Linked DNA regions of Homo sapiens: region 1 is linked to region 2. The links are contacts of gene promoters, found by promoter capture Hi-C in blood cells and fetal thymus (Javierre and others, 2016). All regions are on one chromosome and are shown on one strand. The core of a region is centred on a gene start or on the middle of the fragment in contact, and the rest is flanking DNA. Distances in the headings are between cores, read along the strand shown.

Region 1 (6,171 bases), core at 2,473-4,972, 1.0 Mb before region 2:
AGAAAGGGAGCTCCTTGGAGGCCTCGTGGTGCCTGGCTGGTATACAGTGGGTGCTCAGTACATGCCTGCCATCTGAGTGGTCCACTTGCTGGACGGGGCTGGCCATGTTGCCTAGGGAAGCTGGCTGGGAACAGCGTTCCCAACCCGGCCTGCCACCAGGCTGGCCCCCAGGGTTGAGCACCTCCCAGCTGTCACAACCCAGTTGTGAGAAACGGTTCAACCCCCGGGAGTGCTATGGTCTGTGGTTGGCCAGGGGCTGGAATTCCCCCAAGGAGGCGGCCCCTGCGGCCACGCTATGGTCTTGCCTGGATCAGGGTGACTGGGAGGCCAGAGCACCCTCGCCTGTGAACCTGCGCTGAGAAGTGAACCTGCGCTGAGAAGTGAACCTCAGAAGGGGTCAGGTCACCACTCAGGGACCAGCATGCCCCCAGGGGCAGCCTCCTCCCAGACGGCAGTGCCAGGATGGGGCCATCTGGGGAGCAGGCTTGCACGGACCATGTCTCTCCGGTGTGGACTCAAGCTGGGAGTCTCAGCGCCTCGGGACTGTTTCCTCATCTGTAAGATGGGAGTGCTTACAGACAATGGAACATTATTTAGCCATAGACCAAGGTGTAATAACAATACATGTTACAACCTGGATAAACCTCGAAAACATGATGCTAAGTGACAGAAGCCAGACACAAAAGCTCTGGATAGGTGAAGTATCCAGAATAGGCAACCCCATAGCGACAGGAAGTAGAGGGTGGTTTCCAGGGCCTGGGGGAGGAGGGAAAGGAGAGCAACTGTTTAGTGGGTATGGGTTTCCTTTTGGGGTGATAAAAATGTTTTGGAACTAGACAGAGGCGGAGGTTCCACAACCCTGTAAATATACTAAATTCCACTGAAGTGTTCACTTTAAAATGCTTCATTTTATGTTATGTGAACCTTACCTTGATAAAAAACACAGGGGTGCTACTGACTTCACCAGCTGGTTTGGAGGCTTCAAAGAGAAGATGGCCGTGTAGCCTGAGCTCAGCCAGTGACACTGGTGAATGTCAAAGAATGGAAGCCATCGTGACCCTGGGGGCTGTGTCAGTTCCCTTGCCTTGCTGGACTCCAGACTGCGGGAGTCAGGGGCAGGAGCCAAGGGGGAGGTGAGGGCAGGTGGCTTCGCTGGGCACACCCCTTAGTCAGGGGCAGAGGGAGCTGCTGCGGCTGCTTCAGCAGCTGTGGGTGAACATTCCTATGCTGCAGGCCCAGGCTCCCGCCTCTGATTTGCTGCGCACTTTGGGTTGGCCCTTCAACCCTGGTTCGTTTCTTAATCTGCCCATATCTGCCTGGGTACCTGCTCTTCTGCCGCTGTATTGGACACCTGACCCCATCCTCATACCCGATTCCCACAGCGCAGGTCACTGCCAGGCAGTGTATTACCGATCTCTTGGTTCTGGGGTCTGTGGTCTATCTTCCCTACAGAATCAAGGGAAAATGGATCTGTTTTGTTCATGACTGTATTTCTAACACCCAGTGCCTGGCACATAGCAGGTACTCAATAAATATCTGTTAAATGAACAAATGTACAAATCCTCATTCTTTACGTAGTGGGTGCCAGGTCCTGTCTGTACTAAGTGCTGTCAGTAAATAGCTGTGAGGTCAATGTTATCATTATCTCCGTTTTACAGAGGAGGAAGCTGAGGCTCTGGGACATGGAATGGCCATAGCAGAGCTGGGATTCTGACCTGGCAGCCCAGCAGCAAAGCCCTCGCTCTGACCCACCCAGTTCTAAGCTGTCTTCTGACCTGGAGCTCCCACTCTGGGAGGCAGCTTGGGCCCTGAAGCATTCACTCTGCCTCCTCAGCCACCGGGCCCCGCCCACTCCCAGGGAGGGGCTCCCTCTGAAGCCGCACACCCACCACCCCGAGCCCTTTCTCAGGCTCACTGCCACCCCAGCCGGCTCCCTTCCCTGGGAACCTCCGTCATAAAGAAGGCGAGGCCCTGATCTGGCCTGTCTCTCCGCCCTGGGGCCTTCCTCACCTCAGGGAACCTTAGTTATACATATGGGAGTTACGCCTTGAGCTTGTATTAAGCACCTTTCATCTGGAGAGCTCCTGGCTGCTGGGAGGCTAATTAGCTGCTCTCTGGAAAGAGTGAGTAAGAGCTGACGTCCTAGCCAGGGAACTGCCTAGCTAGGCATGGGGCTGGCCCTCCTGGGAGAGGTGTGTGAGCCATCATCTTGGGTCACCCACTTCTCCATATTTCTCCTTCTGTAGGACCTCCTCACAGAGTCCCTTCTCTCTGGCTAATGATGAAGCCCACCGTTTATTGAGTGCTTATTATGTGCCAAGAGCTTGCTAAGCCCCTTCGCCTGTTAAATATGTGTGCAGAGCAGTAGGGCCGTAGGACTACATAAATATATGTGTGCAGAGCAGTAGGGCCGTAGGACTACATAAATATATGTGTGCAGAGCAGTAGGGCCGTAGGACTACATAAATATATGTGTGCAGAGCAGTAGGGCCGTAGGACTACATAAATATATGTGTGCAGAGCAGTAGGGCCGTAGGACTACATAAATATATGTGTGCAGAGCAGTAGGGGTGTCATGCGTTAACAACTGTGATGGAGCCCTACTCCTTGCTGGCATGGGACCAGTACTTCTGCACATGACCTCATGGAGTGGATGGGAAGCCTCTAGTGTGCTGCCTGGCACGGATCAAGCACTTGCTAAGTGGTAGCTATTATCAGTAATCTTCAGAACAGCCCAGTGAGGTAGGTACCATGCTATTCCCATTTCTCAGATGAGGAAACAGGCTCAGAGAAGTTAAACCACTTACTGGCTATCACAGAGTCAGGAATAGAGTTGGATTGATTTGATTGATTCTAAAGCTGCACATAGTTTTTCAGCTGCTCCCCGCTCCCTTCCCCTAACCTGGAGTCTGTTAACGACAAAGGCCTTGCTTTGCATAATGCTAGGGTCATGGGGTCATTGGGCAGGGCTGTTCTCGTCCATCTCTCCAACAGTGCACTGGTGGGCTAGGCATGGATCAGAAACCCTTGGAGATCATCTAACACAACTCATCCGCACCCCACATTTTTCAGATGTGAAAACGGGACAGAAGGGACTGAGCAAGGTAACAGGATTAATGGGATGATACCTCCTTGTCAGCACAAGGGATAAAGTGGCAGTGGTTGGTGGTCATCCTGGCCCCTGCCATCAAGCTGGCATTGATACAAAGTAAGAATCATTAGAACACTAGAATTCCTGGCTGCCATTTGTCAGCCTGGCCCACCTGCAATGAGTGACCCCAGGGATGTTTGGGTGGGGTGGGGGTGCACACAGCAGGCTGGAGCTGAGACTGGGGCGGGGAGGGTGTACTCCACCTACCTGCCCTCCAGGGTGCTTGGCGCCTCCTAGGGCAGGCTGGCCTCTTTGTGCCATGCCCCACAGAGCATTGCAGTGATCCTAGTGCAGAGCACATAGTAGGTGCTTAAAAATGCTCATTGGAGAAACAGCTGGATCCTGGACTGCAGGAGGGAGGAGATGGCACACTGAGGGCATTGATGGGTAGATGGTAACATCATGTCTGTTCATCATTACTCAGCAGACCTGGTTCCATCAGATGTGACTGCCCTTCAGGCCTTACAGAAGGTACCTACATAAATCTGCTCAGGCAAAGAGAAGTTTGTGGGCTGTGGGCACCTGGCTGGGGTTCCTCAAGGTGGAGCATTCTTCTTGGCACTGACGGGGGTAGCTAAGATCTGAGCATGCAGGCAGGCCCTCTTCTCCCCTGGATGCTGCCCTTCTGAGGAGGCAGCTCTGTGGGTACCAGAGGCATGGGCCTAGGAGGCTGTGACCCCCTGCCTGGCCCCCTACCAGTCTCTGCTTCTACAGACAGGGTCTGCATCTTACCTGCTCCTCCTGCCAGTTCCAGTCCCCTCCCCATTCCCCTCAGGACCTCATCCCTCCTCCTGGCCTCAGCTTAAGGGTTTCCTCAGAGAGGTCTTCCTCAAGAACCTTCCCATCCCAAATCTAAATGAGTGCCCCATTTATATATGTTCTCTGAGCACCTGATTCTTTTCCTTCATAGGAATTTGAAAGTCTTTTCAAATGGAATCTTATATTTCTTTCTAGGTGATTTGTTGAAACAAGTCTGTCTCCTCCGTTAGACTAAGCTCCGCGAGGGGTGAGAAAGTTGTTCCGTCCACTCGTCCTCCGGGGCTAGCAGGACATATTCTGTATTAAATGAGTAGATGACAGAAACCCCGTGAGAGAAAGAGTGAGCCGAGCCAGTGGTTCTCTAAGTGTGGCTCCAGGACCAGCGGACCAGCAGCTCAGCATCGCCTGAGGATTTGTTAGAAATGCAAATTCTCTGACTTGGTTGGGGGACCCAGCAATCCGGGTTTGAAAGAACTGTCCAAGGGGGGATTCCTGTGCACACTGAAGTTTGAGAACCACCGAAGGCGGCAAATCCCCTGCTGTTGGGTGAGTGTGCACTGTGGCAGCTTTGGTGACCTGTAAGAGGAACCATGGATGAGCAAACCCCACCTTCAAATGTAGCAAAGGGCAGAGAGAGGGTGGACACGTCACCCAGACCCCCAAAAGGGGCCCAGACGTGTTGTTCGGCGAGCTGGCCACTGGAGGGCAGTGTGGCCACGTCCATCGTGCTGCCTCCGAGGGCTTCCGGGGGAGAGCGGCCGCGGGAGGACGGGAACGAAGCCGTAGCGAGAACCTCGCCCCACGCCGCAGCCTCCTGCAGCAGCGTCGGCTCGCCGGCCCCTTGCGTTCCGAGCCGCCCAGGGAGCTCAGCCGCCGCAGCCCCGGCCCCTGTGTCTCCCCTCGCGGGCCGGGCCTGGTGTGCACGTCTGGATGGCCTCGGGCCTGGAAGGTTTGCGAGGCCCCGGGAGCCGCAGACCGCGCCGGGGAGGAGATCCCGGCAGGCCGGCCGGGGCAGAGCGCCAAGGAGGGCGGCGGAACCTTGGCTGTTTCCCGGGAGGCCAAGGGCAGCCTTCCCGCGTGATCCGCGCGCTGCCGAGCGCGTCGGCCATCTTGGCGGCCTCGCCCGGGCCCCGCGCCCGGCCCGGCTTGGTTCTCGCTCGCGGCTGAGCAGACGCCGGGGTGGCGACGGGAGAGCCCGACCGCGAAGCTCGGCCGCAGGAGTGCGTGGGCGTCGCAGAAGCCCAGGAGAGCCCTGGACCTTGGTAGCTTCCCGGGGGTGCTGGGAAACGCCACCCCAGTAGCCGCCAGGAAGGCAGGCCTGAGCCTCCGAGCCTCAAGTGAATTGGATGGTGCCAGTCGCCCTTCTTCTTTTTGCCCCATATTCAAAGAGCGGGAAGTCAGAGGGCGTTAAAGTAGGTCACAGCGGTCAGCAGGTTTTTGTGGGGCAGGCAAGTGGCAGGGTCCAAGGCCAGGCGTAGTATCTGGTTGCCTAAGATGCTTGGGCAACTCCTTCACCGGGCACACCAATCTCCGAGCCAGAGGTCAGGGACTGGCCCCGCGGAGCTGGCTGCAGGCGGCCGATGCATTCCAGTCCCTGACCACCATGGGGACTTGAGGTGCCATTCTGAGGAGCCCCAGGCCCCACCACGCCTGTTGCCTCTGTCTAGAGTAGTTCACACATGGATGCTGTCTCTCTGGTACTTGGGTGTTTCTCAGGTTCCAGAACATCCGTTCATCTTACCAGTCCTTCAAGGTTCAGCTTAAAGATCAGCTCCACCAGGAAGCCTTCCTGGATTTCCCCTCTTAGTTTCCAACAGAATCCGTCTCTTCCGTTCTCTGCCCACCTTGAGTAGCAGTAGCTTCAGCTGTAGACTCTCCTGTTTTTCCCTTACAGTCTTTGTTGCTGCATCCTCTTTCACTGAATTGTTGATGTGAGACCCTAGACTCTCTTGTTTTTTCGTTACAGTCTTTGTTGCTGCATCCTCTCTCACTGAATTGTTGAATTGTGAGACCCTGTGAGGGTCGGCACCCTGTGATACTGGCCAGGAAAGGGTTGTTGCAAGGGGATCATGGGATTGTTGAATGGGTTTTGATCTGGATTTTGATGTTGGAAATCAAGTTCCCAAATGTTTTCAACCTTGGGTAAAGGAACATGTAATGGTGTTTTTTAAGGCTGTCATGGAATCCTTTTGTGTGTTTAATTGCTTTGTTATTTTAGTAGAAATGTCAGGGTGTCAGAGGAACAAAAGCCATGGGTCTGA
Region 2 (6,689 bases), core at 3,919-6,418:
ACACAAGGTAGCTCACGCCTACAATCCCAGCACTTTGGGAGGCTAAGGCAGGCAAATTGCTTGAGCCCAGGAGTTTGAGACCAGCCTGGGCAACATAGAGAGAACCTGTCTCCACAAAAAAATACAAAAATTAGCTGGGCATTGTGCCGCACACCTGTAGTAGTCCTAGCTACCCAGGAGGCTGAGATGAGAGGATCACCTGAGCCCAGGAGGTCGAGCCTGCAGTGAGCTGTGGTCATGCCACTGCACTCTAGCCTGGGGAACAGACTGAGACCCTATCAAAAACAAAAAACAAACAAACAAAAAACTATAAATTCTAAACTACAAGGACTTTAACAACAACCAATTCTGCCATTTCTGCCTTAATAGGGCCACTCCCATCACTTGCCTGGACTATTGCATATTGTTTCTGGCCACTCCATTCATTTGTTCCTTAATTTACTCCTTCCACAGGCATTTAAATACACACCCTGCTGAGGTCTGGGGTACAAGAATCATTTAAGCATATTCCCTCCCCTTTGAATACTCATAGTTGAGATGAAAAGAGAGGTACACACAAATAACTACAGCCATGCAGTAAGCATTACAATTGCTATTTAAAAGTGCTATGGAAGCAGACAGGAAGAAGCCCCAAATTCGCCTGCAAAAGTCAGATCAGTGTCACAATCCTGCCTTGAGTAGCTTCCTAAAAAGTCACGATTATCCTTTAACACTTCCCATGGGACTGGTAGACCACAGGATAAATTCCAAACTTCTTAGGGTCGCAGAGAAAAACATCAAAAATTGGTCCCTCACTTCCTTCTCACTCATACATCACATTGCAACGTTCAGTTCCTATCCTTCCTGGCAGTTACTTCACCTCTCAGTGTCTTAATTTCCTTAAAACCCTTGTTTTACAGTCATATGAATTTACTACTTCATATGACTGTAGTGGAGGTTAAAGGACTCGGGGAGTGCGTGGCACATAGTACTTAAGGTCAGCAATCATCATTTAATGACTCTCACATGATCTGCCCTCCAGCCACATGGTATGTGTATTGGTAGGTCACGCATCCTGTCTCCCTGACTTCCCTCCACAAAACCTTCCCCAGAGTCAAGTCTTTTCCTCTCCAATGTTCTCATCAACTTCGCACATATCTATTCGATAATCTTATCAAAATACTATTATGGCTTGCAAGTTTGTTTGCCCCCACCGGAGCACGTAAATTCCTGCGGTGTATGTGTGCGCGAAAGCACGTATGTGTATTGCACATGAGGGGAGACGGTCAACCCTGGAGAATGAACCCTGTCCTCCTTACCACCAAGAAAAGAAAATTCTTCATGTTAGATGTTCAACAACTGTTTAGGAACAATATTAGCTAATATTTATTGAGCCCTTATTACGTGCCACACTGTTCCAAAGGCTTCGGATATTTTACCTCACTTTACAGATAAGGATACTGAGGTAACTAGTTGAGAAACTTGGGCAAAGTTAAACAGCTGACAATTGGTGTGAAGCTCGCATTCGAATCCAGGGACCGGACTCCAGATTCCACGCTCTCCAACACCACCTGAAGTGGGAGAGTCCCTCAACTTCCCCTAATGACAGGCTGCCCGAAGCGGGAAGGGGCTGGGGAGGAAGATGGGCAGCAACAGGCGGAAACATCACCCAGAATCCCCTAAAAAGAGCTTTTTCCAACAATGAGCAGCTTCCAAGCATTCCCCACCAAAAGAAGGCCCGAAGCTCCCCCAATTCACAGCGGGGTTCTTAGTGACGATCCCGAGTCTTAAGGGGGCGTGACCAGCACCCAAGAGAAAATCTCCGCTCCCCCAATATCGAAACCCACGAGCCTAGGGAAGGAGCAGGAAATAATGAGCGAACCCCACTTCCCCACAACGGCACCCCACATGAAACTTTCCAGTACCGGGTCTGCAGCATCCAACTTTCAAGTTTCCCCACCCTTTACACAGTTTCCCCGCGGAAAACGCCGCAAAGCAACAACCGAAGCACTGATTGAGTCGTCATTCTGGCTACTGTATCCAATCAGAGGCCGGCAGAGGCCCAGGTTGGCTCCGCGGCTTGCTGGGAATTGTAGTTAATACTATGATCAGCCTAACAGATCGAATCTGAAGCAGTTTCTCAATATAGTGATTATCAAAATCTGTTGCAGGACCATCACCAAAGAGAATGTGAAACAAGGGAACACCCTGTTTGGAAATTTTTCTTTTTTCTTTCTTTTTTTTTTTTTTTGAGACGGGGTCTCGCTCTGTCGCCCAGGCTGGAGTGCAGTGGCGCGATCTCGGCTCACTGCAAGCTCCGCCTCCTGGGTTCACGCCATTCTCCTGCCTCAACCTCCCTAGTAGCTGGGACTACAGGCTCCCACCACCACGCCCGGCTAATTTTTTTGTATTTTTAGTAGAGACGGGGTTTCACCGTGTTAGCCAGGATGGTCTCGATTTCCTGACCTCGTGATCCGCCCGCTTCGGCCTCCCAAAGCGCTGGGATTACAGGCGTGATCCACCGCTCTCGGCCCTGGAAATCTTTTTTTTCGTGTATCATCACTTTTCACAATGGCTTAAAGGGGCCAGACGCAGTGGCTCACGCCCGTAATTTCAGCACTTTGGGAGACCGAGGCGGGAGGATCACTTGAGCCTGGGAGTTCGAGACTAGCCTTGGCAACATAGTGAGACACCCTCCCCCACCCCTCCGCCTCTACAAAAAAATACAAAAAATAGGCTGGGCGCGGTGGCTCATGCCTGTAATCCCAGCACTTTTGAAACTGCCCGATGGGTTCACCTTACCAGCTGCCTAGACAGAACCGATTTATCAGGACAGGGGAATTGCAATGCAGAAAGAGTAATTCACGCAGAGCCAGCTGTGCGGAAGACTGAAGTTTTATTGTTACTTAAATCAGTTGTCCCGAGCATTTGCGGATCGGAGTTTTTACCAATAATTTGGCTGGTAGGGGCTTAGGAAGTGGGGAGTGCTGATTGGTCAGGTTGGAGATGGAATCATAAGGGGTCGAAGTGAGGTTTTCTTAATGTCTTCTGTTCCTGGGTGTGATGGCAAAACTGGTTGCGCCAAATTACTGGTCTGAGTGGTGTCAGCTGATCCATGGAGTGCAGGGTCTACAAAATATCTCAAGCACTGATCTTAGGGCTTGCAATAGTGATGTCACCCCCGGGAGCAATTTGGGGAGGTTCAGACTCTTGGAGCCAGAGGCTGCATGACCTCTAAACTGTAATTTCTAAACTTGTAGCTAATTTGTTAGTCCTGCAAAGGCAGACTGGTCCCCAGGCAAGAAGTGGGTCTTTTCGGAAAGGGCTGTTATCAATTTTGTTTCAGAGTCAAACCATGAACTGAATTCCTCCCCAAAGTTAGTTCAGCCTACGCCCAGGAATGAACAAGGACAGCTTAACGGTTAGAAGCAAGATAGAGTCGGTTAGGTCTGATTTCTTTCACTGTCATAATTTCCTCAGTTATAATTTTGCAAAGGCGGTTTCACTTCGGAATGCTGAGGCAGGCAGATCACTTGAGCTCAGGATTTCGAAACCAGCCTGGCCAACATGGCGAAACCCCGCCTCTACTAAACATACAAAAATTAGCCAGACATGGTGGCAGGCACCTGTGATCCCAGCTACTTGGGAGGCTGAGGTGAGAGGAGCCAGACATTGCCTCAAAAAAAAAAAAAACCTTAATGGGCCAGAAAGCCATGTTACTTTTCTCAGGAATCGAGGACAATCCACCAATCACAGAAGAGTTTTTGGAAGAAAACGTTTTGTTTGTTTTAACTTGCTCTTTTCACCACCCTTTGGTGATTAAATAGTTTGGGAAATGCTGAATGAAATTACTAAACCTGAAACACACATAGTGAGGAAAGCTGAGAGTCTGTGATTAAAGCACACCAGGGAAACCAAACAAAAGGCTTGGTGTAAGGCAGCTGTGGTGAGCAAACCTAGTAAGCCGTTACTTCAAGAGTTGGTTTCAGGCTGGGAACGGTGGCTCACGCCCGTAATCCCAGAACTTTGGGAGGCCGAGGTGGGCGGATTGCCTGAGGTCAGGAGTTCGAGACCAGCCTGGCCAACATGGTGAACCCCTGTCTCTATTAAAAATACAAAAATTAGCCGGGTGTGGTGGCGCGCGCCTGTAAATCCCAGCTACTCAGTGAGGCTGAGGCAGAAGAATCGCTTATCCCAGCTACACAGTGAGGCTGAGGCAGGAGAATCGCTTAAACCCGGGAGACGGAGGTTGCAGCGAGCCGAGATCGCGCCATTGCACTCCAGCCTGGGAGACAGAGCGAGACTCTGTCTCAAAACAAAAGACTTGGTTTCAGATTATTGTGTTTGCGAAAAAGCCTTTGCTCATTCTTTGCTCTCTGATCTCTTATGCATACTTCTGTCTTATAATTTAGCCCACCGTCTCCTAATTTTTGGCCTGCATCTCCCTTGAGAAGAAGGACCTCCATTTACTCAACTTAGAGAATAGGGCCTAAGCCCGGTGTAGTGGCGCGCGCCTCTAGTCCCAGCTACTACAGGAAGGCTGAGGCTTAAGGATTACTTGATCCAGGAAGTTCGAGGCTGCCATGAGCCGAGATCACACCACCGCACTCCAGCGACAGAGAGACTCTGTCTCTAAAAAAATAAAATAAAGCCTAGCACACCGTTCAATTAACAGTTGTAGGGTAAATGTGCAAATAAATGAATGGAGTGAAGCAGAAGAATATGGAAATTCAGACCGCAGAGTTCCGGAACAAAAGAGCCCAGTAGATAGAATAATAATGGAGGAGAACCCAGTTCTCCTAGCTCCGGGTATCCCCCGCGCCTGGCAAAACACCATCACTGGTTGGCGTTCAATAAATGTTGACTTCACATGTTAAGGAGATAAGAGAGTGGAAGAAAAAAAAAAATCCAGGGTCACAGTTCTTCCTGCCACCTGCTCGGCCGAATGCAGAACTGAAAGTATTGAGCGCCGGAGCTGTCACAATTGAGGGAGATGGTCCGCAGCCAGGTAGCTGATTTCCTCTTTCCGAGCTTTCTAGCTTTCCCTACTCCCGGAGAGGTGGCGTCACGTGACTCAAACAAATATGGCACTTAATTTTCATCTTCCCTGCCTTGAGCCAATAGGAGTGGGGCTTTCAGTCTTTGTCACCACCCCCACCACCGCTGTTCGGAGTGGGTTCTGTCACCTGACTCGGCTCAAACATGGCTGCGCTGAGAGCTCTATTGCTTTGGGCGCCGGGAGCAGGTGAGTGTAAGACACCCCTGAGAGGGAGGGGCCCCTCTCCACGACCCCCGCAGAGAGCGTCCCTGCGGCCCACCCCCACACTGCTTTCCACTTATGACACAGATTCGTCTCCTGGTCGTCAATCCTCTGCCTTAACAGAGGGCTCAAACTAGGGAGGTTCCTGCTGAATTTCTCATTCTTGAGGAGGCGACCACCTGGGGATTTGGAGTCAAGACTGGGCATAACGTTCAGTAGGGAATACGGACGTAGAGTTATGGGTCTGCGCCCGGAGCAAATATGACTATTAATATTATTAAATATAGGAATCCGCGTGAAGAGATGGGATCCACCCCTTGAAGAAAGTGTTTTCAAAAAGTAACGTGGGAAATTAAACTGAAAACGATACTTAGGCAAGCAAGTCCCGCCTTTCCCAGGCGGACCAGTAGTTGCTGCTTTGTCTTAATACAGTGCCTTCTGTTTCTTCTCACTGGCGTTGTGTTGTTTCTAGGAGGTACTCCGCGAATGAGAACATTGAGAATGTGTTCGGCATAACTCATTTCTTTGTATCTCCCTGCACTCTGTGCTGGGAAAATGAATCATCCATTTGGAAAAGAGGAAGCTGCTTCGCAGAAGCAGCTTTTTGGATTTTTCTGCGAATGCCTGCGGAGGGGAGAATGGGAGCTGGCACAGGCATGTGTACCTCAGCTACAGGAGGGACAAGGGGATATCCCAAAGAGGGTAGAAGACATACTTCAGGCATTGGTGGTGTGTCCAAATCTGCTGAGGTAAGGGATCTCTTTTCCTACCAGACGGTCCCAGGGTGAGAGACATGTGGTTCAATATTTGGGCATTGGTCAATGTGCCCCCACTCAACTACCCTCTGAAGAATAAGCAGAGGCACAGTGTATTTCACGTGCTCTGAAATTTTACCTCTATAGTATACATCCATTACTTAGTCAATATTGGCTTTTGATTATCATCTGCAACTGAATGTAAGCCTGGCTGCCAAAGTGTGCCTGAAACTGCCATTTCTTGTTTATCCTCGTTAATATAGATGGTGGAACTGCATTGAAAACTATTTTCTTTGCCTCCAAAAAAGCAAACCCTGCTCTCTTCTTGCTTATGAGATTGAAAATATTGTTGTCGCTTTACTTAAAACTTTTTATTTCGAAATAATTGCAGTCTCACAAGAAGCTGCAAAAATAATGGAGTCCAGCGTATCCTTTTCCCAGTCTGCCCCAATTGCGACGTCTCATACAGCTGTAGTACAATATCAAAACCATGAAATTGACATTGGCACATTACTTTAAATGACACTACAGAGTTTATTTGGTTTTCAGCATTTTCTTAATCTGCCTTCATTTTTTCATTTGTAGTTTTATGCAGTTTTATCCATATATAGATTCATGTAATCCCACTGTAATAAGGATCAGAACTGTTCCATTACCACAAAAGAATTCCCTCACTCCTTGGTGCTACCTCTTTG

The links. The method cuts DNA at HindIII sites, captures the fragments that hold promoters and counts their contacts. A CHiCAGO score of 5 or more calls a contact.
Region 1: a contact is called between a fragment that was not itself captured here and the fragment with the promoter of ZFYVE26 in region 2, in 6 of 17 cell types (neutrophils, monocytes, total CD4 T cells and 3 more). The highest score is 13.7, in neutrophils.

The regions. Positions count from the first base shown.
Region 1 is chr14:68,815,303-68,821,473 of GRCh38, reverse strand. No RefSeq gene overlaps it. Among named protein-coding and RNA genes, the nearest start is that of ZFP36L1, 25 kb to the right of the region's middle. RefSeq lists enhancers at 245-444, 4,367-4,416, 4,517-4,566, 4,441-5,180, 5,197-5,426 and 1 more and a silencer at 4,667-5,056. The HindIII fragment of the contact is 8,351 bases long and covers 1-6,171 here.
Region 2 is chr14:67,815,069-67,821,757 of GRCh38, reverse strand. It overlaps ZFYVE26 (zinc finger FYVE-type containing 26), which reads left to right and starts at 5,168. Exons shown (of 42, transcript NM_015346.4): 1 at 5,168-5,224; 2 at 5,712-5,988. The coding sequence starts at 5,795. It overlaps RAD51B (RAD51 paralog B), which reads right to left and starts at 1,979. Exons shown (of 11, transcript NM_133510.4): 1 at 1,905-1,979. RefSeq lists enhancers at 831-1,592, 1,852-2,146, 4,637-4,736, 4,787-4,956. The HindIII fragment of the contact is 23,571 bases long and covers 1-6,689 here.